Linked DNA regions of Homo sapiens: region 2 is linked to region 1. The links are contacts of gene promoters, found by promoter capture Hi-C in human tissues and cell types (Jung and others, 2019). All regions are on one chromosome and are shown on one strand. Each heading gives the region's core, a stretch centred on a gene start or on the middle of the fragment in contact. The rest is flanking DNA. Distances are from core to core; before and after follow the strand shown. Region 1 holds the start of ZNF841 (zinc finger protein 841). Region 2 has its middle 6.6 kb from the start of ZNF432.

Region 1 (3,658 bases), core at 551-3,050:
TGCCTGGCCCATCTGAAAAGTCTTAATCCATTTCAGTATCAACTCTAAGGCCCAAATATCACCTAAATATTATCTGAATCACATATGGGTGAGACACAAGGTGTGGTTCATCCTGAGGCAAAGTTTCTGCCCAGCTGTGAATCTGTGAAGCCAGAGAAGTTATCTGCTTCCAAAATACAATGGTGGGACAGGCATAGGAAACACCCTCAGCCCTGGAAACCACCCTTCTACTTTGTTACTCTGAATTTGATGTTTGTACTTAGCACGTGTAAGTAAGTGCATGAAGTATGTTTCTTTGTGTGTGTTGGGAACGGGTGCTCAGTGTCGCAAAAATCAACACTGAGACAAAGGATCTCTCAGCAAGGCTAGTTTACTTTCTGCAGAAAGGGTGCTGCTCACTAGCAGTCTTGCCACGAGAGTACACATGAACAAAAGAGAAGGGTCATTTATAACCTGACGCATCTGGCCGGGCGCGGTGGCTCATGCCTGTAATCCCAGCACTTTGGGAGGCCGAGGTGGGCGGATCACGAGGTCAGGAGATCGAGACCATCCTGGCTAACGCAGTGAAACCCCGTCTCTACTAAAAATACAAAAAATTAGCTGGGCGCAGTGGCAGGTGCCTCTAGTCCCAGCTACTCGGGAGGCTGAGGCAGGAGAATGGCGTGAACCCAGGAGGCAGAGCTTGCAGTGAGCCGAGATAGCGCCACTGCACTCCGGCCTGGGCGAAAGAACGAGACTCCGTCTCAAAAAAAATAATAATAATAATAACCTGACGCGTCCACCCTACTGCTGTGTCTGGTTTCCATTGGCTGGAATCGGACCCAATTCTGTGCTTGACCTGATTGGCTAGCACCTTAGAACTTCCCAAAAGAGGCAAAGGCAGAGGAGAACAAAGGAAGAGAGGAAGTAACTTGTGGAAGGCTGAGAGAGGCAAAAACACTTCCAAATAAGGAAGAGGAATAGGCTGTGACCTAATGCTTGCTTGGAACAATTCAGGCATGCCAGGGCAAATATCTAGGCTAAAATGTGGGAGCTAAGAACACAGAGTATATTGATTTATCTATTATGGCTAGCAGATATTTAAGAATATTAGCACAGGTCTTTGAGTAAATTTTGCTTCTAAGAGAGGTTACTATCTATTCTCAATTAGACTGGGAGGAAAGTCCCTTTGAAGAGGAACCTCTACTTATTTCATTTTCTACACTGTGTCTAGCACATTTCGCTTGGCATAATGTCTTCTGGGTTCCTGGATCCAGTCACTGCTCCACATCCAATCCCCACCGAGATCCCAGTTCCCTGACTACTGAGTAGCTTCAGCTTTTCTGGTAAGACTGGATGGAGTCCACCAGGCTCGGAAAAATCGGTTTTGACTTAAATCAGTTCAACTTGTTAAGAATAAATCATCTTAGTTTCCAGTATAAGTGGACCACAACTTTAAGATTCAACCTTAAATTCTGAAACATTAATTTAAAATGGGCAAGGAGCAACGCTGCTTCACAGGACAAGAAATAGTCACAAATACTCCCAAACCTGGAAAACAAAATCCTGCTGGGTGAGAGGCGGAGTGGAGAACAGGCCCCGCCTCGGCCCCGCCCACCCCTGGAGGCCCCGCTTCATCCCAGTTTTCGGTCCAGCCAAGCCCCACCTAGTCACGCCCCCTACCGCCCTGGGCCTCCCACCACCCTTTCGGGCCACTCCCAAGTCAGGCCAGTCTTTCCGCCCAGCCCTTTCCTAGTCGCGCCCCGCCTAGGCCCCGCCCCCAGGCCGCCCAGTTTTTCTTTCCGCGCCCAGTTTCCTGCACACCCGGAAGCAGATCGCGCTGGGGAAAGGCCACGTCGCTATGAGTGTGTTTCAGTCTACCTGGATTAAACGTTTGCTTCTCTTCGTCTACCTTGATTAAACGTGCACTTCGCAGTCCTCGGTTCTCCATACCCGTGACCTGGGGATCGCTACGGACCTTAAAATACCCGCAACAGCCCCTTCGTCCCAAGTAAGTAGGAGAATTGCTTCCCTTTCGGTTTAAAATCTCTCTGAGGCCGTTCCTTGCTCTCTGCCTTTCTTCCTTAGGACCATGTAGACAACCCCATTCAGGTAGTGTTCCCGCTTAAAACCCTCTGCTTGGGCCCCGCGCCAAGTCGAGTCCTCATTCGGGATGTGGACTAGCGCCCTTCGCGATCCCCGAGCTCCTCCGTCGTCTGCCCCTGGAGGGGAGCGCCCACTGTCCGGCTCCTGAAGGAGCCGCTTCTCCTCCCACGTCCTGGGATTCTGCAGACCCTCCCTGTCGTGAGACATCGTTCTCCGCGCCACCTCGTGTCGTCCTCACGCCGGGTCCTTCCGCTCCCCAGGCTTCCCCTTCACAGCCACTGCTTTTCTTGACTCCCCGTTGGGACAGGTTACCTGAGTCTGTCTTGTGACACCCAGTGTTCTTCCTTCCCAAATTTTACTCCACTGGAAAATGTGCTCTTCCGGGAGGTGGGCATCCTATTCCTCCCCTTTCCTCCCGAATGTGTGGGTGAGAGGGATCAGGAGAGGAAAAGACGGGGAACGACGGAGCAAAAGGAAAAACTGAGGAGAAAAGAATGAGGGAGACCCATAAATACACGGCAAAATGGATGATACTTTAGGGACTTGCAAAGAGAGCAAGAGTGAAAGAGAACGGATGGAAAAAGTAGCAGGGGGAGAAAAGCACACAGAGAAATTTAGAAAAAAAGGGGACCTTCAGAGAGATGAAGGGCAGCAAAATAGAGTGGGGCGGCAAAGGAGGAGGCACTGCAGACAGACAGACAGTGGGGAGAAGGTGAAAGAGTTGGAGCCGCGGCTGACAGAGCTACGTGGTGCTGGGACTGAAAGAGAGGGAGAGAGGGCAGTGGGTGACAAGCAGAGTAGAGGGAGAACCACAGCAGGGAGTAAGCCTAGGAAATTGGGGGTGCTAGAGAGTGGGAACAAAGGAGATGTAACAGGGAAGAGGGAATTTAACAAGGAGAGCAGAGAGGGAGCTTAGATGGGGGAAAAGAGGCAGAAATACGTGGAGATTGGGGACAATCGGAAAGATTGGGGAGAAAGAGCTACGAGAGGTGAAGTAAGTTGCAGAGCATTGGGCAGAACAGACATAAAAGAGGGAATAAAGAAAGGGGTGCAAAACAGAAAAGGAGAAAAAAAAGACGCTCAGAATGAGAGAGGGAAACACATAGCCGTGAAGAAAGCGGGAGAGGACCCCATCCAGATGCGTGACAGTTGATTGGATATGGATGGTGGTTGTAATATATTGATTTGTGGCTTTATACTCTGATTTGAAATATGTTTAAGTTGTACTCATGAGGATGAAAATCACCAAAGTTTTTTCTATAAGCCTTGTGCATTTTGTATGTATTTGTATCAAAAGATATTTGGAATTCCTATTTAGCCAGAGGGCAGTGACTTGATCCAGTTATTTGTGGTAACTCTCTTCTTCCCAATGATGGAGTAGAGCATAAAGGAGGGGAGAAATGGGGCAAGAAATGACTGACTGTCACTACAAGATATGTCTTTGGTGTTTTTTTTGGCTTTGTTCTGTTTTGTTTTGGGGGGGGACATGGTCTCTCTCTGCCGCCTAGGCTGGAGAGCAGTGGCATGATCTCGGCTCACTGCAGCTTCTACTTCCTGGCCTCAAGCAGTCTTT
Region 2 (3,658 bases), core at 798-3,297, 41 kb after region 1:
GTGCCGCGATAAACATACATGGACATGTGTCTTTATAGCAGCATGATTTATAATCCTTTGGGTATATACCCAGTAATGGGATGGCTGGGTCAAGTGGTATTTCTAGTTCTAGATCCTTGAGGAATCGCCACACTGTCTTCCACAATGGTTGAACTAGTTTACAGTCCCACAAACAGTGTAAAAGTGTTCATATTTCTCCACATCCTCTCCAGCACCTGTTGTTTCCTGACTTTTTAATGATCACCATTTTAACTGGTGTGAGATGGTATCTCGTTGTTATTGGGGGAACCTGCCCCCAATATTTCAATGTAGTTTCTTTCTATTTTCCATAAGTGTCAGCCGGCTGAGAAATAAAGACAATACAAAGAGAGGAATTTTACAGCTGGGCCTCCAGGGGTGACATCACATATCGGTAGGACTGTGATGCCCGCCTGAGTCTCAGACCAGTAAGTTTTTTTTTTAAGGGTTTCAAAAGGGGAGGGGGTGTAAGAACAGAGAGTAGGTACAAAGATCACATGCTTCAAAGAGCAAAAAGCAGAACCACTGATAAGGGTCTAACAAAGATTACATCTTTCTGAGGGAAAAGGGCAAAGGGCAAAAGTAGAACCACTGATATGGGTCCAACAAAGATCACAGGGCAAAGGGCAAAAGCAGAACCACTGTTAACACAATTATCACAGTGGTCCTGAGGTGACGTACATCCTCAGCTTATGAAGATAACAGGATTAAGATATTACAGTAAAGACAGGCATAAGAAATTATAAAAGTATTATTTGAGAACTGATAAATGTCCATATTAAAGTGAAATCTTCACAATTTATGTTCCTTTGCCGCAGCTCCATCTGGTCTCTCTGTTTGGGGTCCCTGCCTTCCTGTAACACATTGTGGTTTTGATTTGCATTTCTCTGATGGCCAGTGATGATGAGCATTTTTTCATGTGTCTGTTGGCTGCATAAATGTCTTCTTTTGAGAAGGGTCTGTTCATATCCTTCACCCACTTTTTGATAGGGTTGTTTGATTTTTTCTTGTAAATTTGTTTAAGTTCTTTGTAGATTCTAGATATTAGCCCTTTGTCAGATGGGTAGGTTGTAAAAATTTTCTCCCATTCTGTAGGTTGCCTGTTCACTCTGATGGTAGTCTCTTTTACTGTGCAGAAGCTCTTTAGTTTAATTAGATCCCATTTGTCAATTTTGGCTTTTGTTGCCATTGCTTTTGGTGTTTTAGTCATGAAGTCCATGCCCATGCCTGTGGCCTGAATGGTATTGCCTAGGTTTTTTTCTAGGGTTTTTATGGTTTTAGGTCTAACATTTAAGTCTTTAATCCATCTTGAATTAATTTTTGTATAAGGTGTAAGGAAGGGATCCAGTTTCAGCTTTCTATATATGGCTAGCCAGTTTTCCCAGCACCATTTATTAAATAGGAAATCCTTTCCCCATTTCTTGTTTTTGTCATGTTTGTCAAAGATCAGATGGTTGTACATGTGTGGTACTATTTCTGGGGGCTCTGTTCTGTTCCATTGGTCTATATCTCTGTTTTGGTACCAGTATCGTGCTCTTTTGGTTACTGTAGCCTTGTAGTATAGTTTGAAGTCAGGTAGCGTGATGCCTCCAGCTTTGTTCTTTTGGCTTAGGATTGTCTTGGCAATATGGGCTCTTTTTTGGTTCCATATGAACTTTAAAGTAGTTTTTTCCAATTCTGTGAAGAAAGTCATTGGTAGCTTGATGGGGATGGTATTGAATCTATAAATTACTTTGGGCAGTATGGCCATTTTCACGATCTTGATTCTTCCTATCCATGAGCATGGAATGTTCTTCCATTTGTTTGTGTCCTCTTTTATTTCGTTGAGCAGTGGTTTGTAGTTCTCCTTGAAGAGGTCCTTCACATCCCTTATAAGTTGGATTCCTAGGTATTTTATTCTCTTTGTAACAATTATGAATGAGAGTTCACTCATGATTTGGCTGTTTGTCTGTTGTTGGTGTATAGGAATGCTTGTGATTTTTCACATTGATTTTGTATCCTGAGACATTGCTGAAGTTGCTTATCAGCTTAAGGAGATTTTGGGCTGAGACGATGGGATTTCTAAATATACAATCTTGTCATCTGCAAACAGGGACAATTTGACTTCCTCTTTTCCTAATTGAATACCCTTTATTTCTTTCTCCTGCTTGATTGTCCTGGCCAGAACTTCCAACACTATGTTGAATAGGAGTGGTGAGAGAGGGCATCCCTGTCTTGTGCCAGTTTTCAAAGGGAATGCTTCCAGTTTTTGCCCATTCAGTATGATATTGGCTGTGGGTTTGTCATAAGTAGCTCTTATTATTTTGAGATACATCCCATCAATACCTAGTTTATTGAGAGTTTTTAGCATGAAGTGCTGTTGAATTTTGTCGAATGCCTTTTTTGCATCTATTGAGATAATCATGTGGTTTTTGCCTTTTGTTCTGTTTATGTGATGGATTATGTTTATTGATTTGTGTATGTTGAACCAGCCTTGCATCCCAGGGATGACACCAACTTGATCTTGGTGGATAAGCTTTTTGATGTATTGCTGGATTTGATTTGCCAGTATTTTATTGAGGATTTTTGCATCGATGTTCATCAGGGATATTGGTTTAAAATTCTATTTTTATGTTGTGTCTCTGCCAGCCTTTGGTATCAGGATGATGCTGGCCTCATAAAATGAGTTAGGGAGGATTCCCTCTTTTTCTATTTATTGGAATAGTTTCAGAAGGAATGGTACCAGCTCTTCTTTGTACCTCTGGTAGAATTCAGCTGTAAATCTGTCTGGTCCTGGACTTTTTTTGGTTGGTAGGCTATTAATTATTGCCTCAATTTCAGAGCCTGTTATTGGTCTATTCAGGGATTCAACTTCTTCCTGGTTTAGTCTTGGGAGGGTGTATGTGTCCAGGAATTTATCCATTTCTTCTAGGTTTTCTAGTTTATTTGCGTAGAGGTGTTTATAGTATTCTCTGATGGTAGTTTGTATTTCTGGAGATCGGTGGTGATATCCCCTTTATCATTTTTTATTGTGTCTATTTGATTCTTCTCTCTTTTCTTCTTTATTAGTTTTGCTAGCAGTCTATCAATTTTGTTGATCTTTTCAAAAACCAGCTCCTGGATTCATTGATTTTTTGAAGTGTTTTTTATGTCTGTATCTCCGTCAGTTCTGCTCTGATCTTAGTTATTTCTTGCCTTCTGCTAGCTTTTGAATGTGTTTGCTCTTGCTTCTCCAGTTCTTTTAATTGTGATGTTAGGGTGTCAATTTTAGATCTTTTCTGCTTTCTCTTGTGGGCATTTAGTGCTATAAATTTCCCTCTATACACTGCTTTAACTGTGTCAAGAGATTCTGGTATGTTGTGTCTTTGTTCTCATTGGTTTCAAAGAACATCTTTATTTCTGCCTTCATTTCGTTATGTACCCAGTAGTCATTCAGGAGCAGGTTGTTCAGTTTCCATGTAGTTGAGCGGTTTTGAGTGAGTTTCTTAATCCTGAGCTCTAGTTTGATTGCACTGTGGTCTGAGAGACAGTTTGTTATAAGTTCTGTTCTTTTACATTTGCTGAGGAGTGCTTAACTTCCAACTATGTGGTCAATTTTGGAATAAGTGCAATGTGGTGCTAGGAAAAATGTATATTCTGTTGATTTGAGGTGGAGAGTTCG

The links. The method cuts DNA at HindIII sites, captures the fragments that hold promoters and counts their contacts. A contact is called where the count stands out against the background at its distance.
Region 2: a fragment that was not itself captured here is called in contact with the fragment with the promoter of ZNF841 in region 1 in 1 of the 25 tissues and cell types used here (aorta).

The regions. Positions count from the first base shown.
Region 1 is chr19:52,093,907-52,097,564 of GRCh38, reverse strand. ZNF841 (zinc finger protein 841) reads left to right here and starts at 1,800. Exons shown (of 7, transcript NM_001136499.2): 1 at 1,800-1,990; 2 at 3,594-3,658. The HindIII fragment of the contact is 12,551 bases long and covers 1-3,658 here.
Region 2 is chr19:52,053,623-52,057,280 of GRCh38, reverse strand. No RefSeq gene overlaps it. Among named protein-coding and RNA genes, the nearest start is that of ZNF432, 6.6 kb to the right of the region's middle. The HindIII fragment of the contact is 8,170 bases long and covers 1-3,658 here.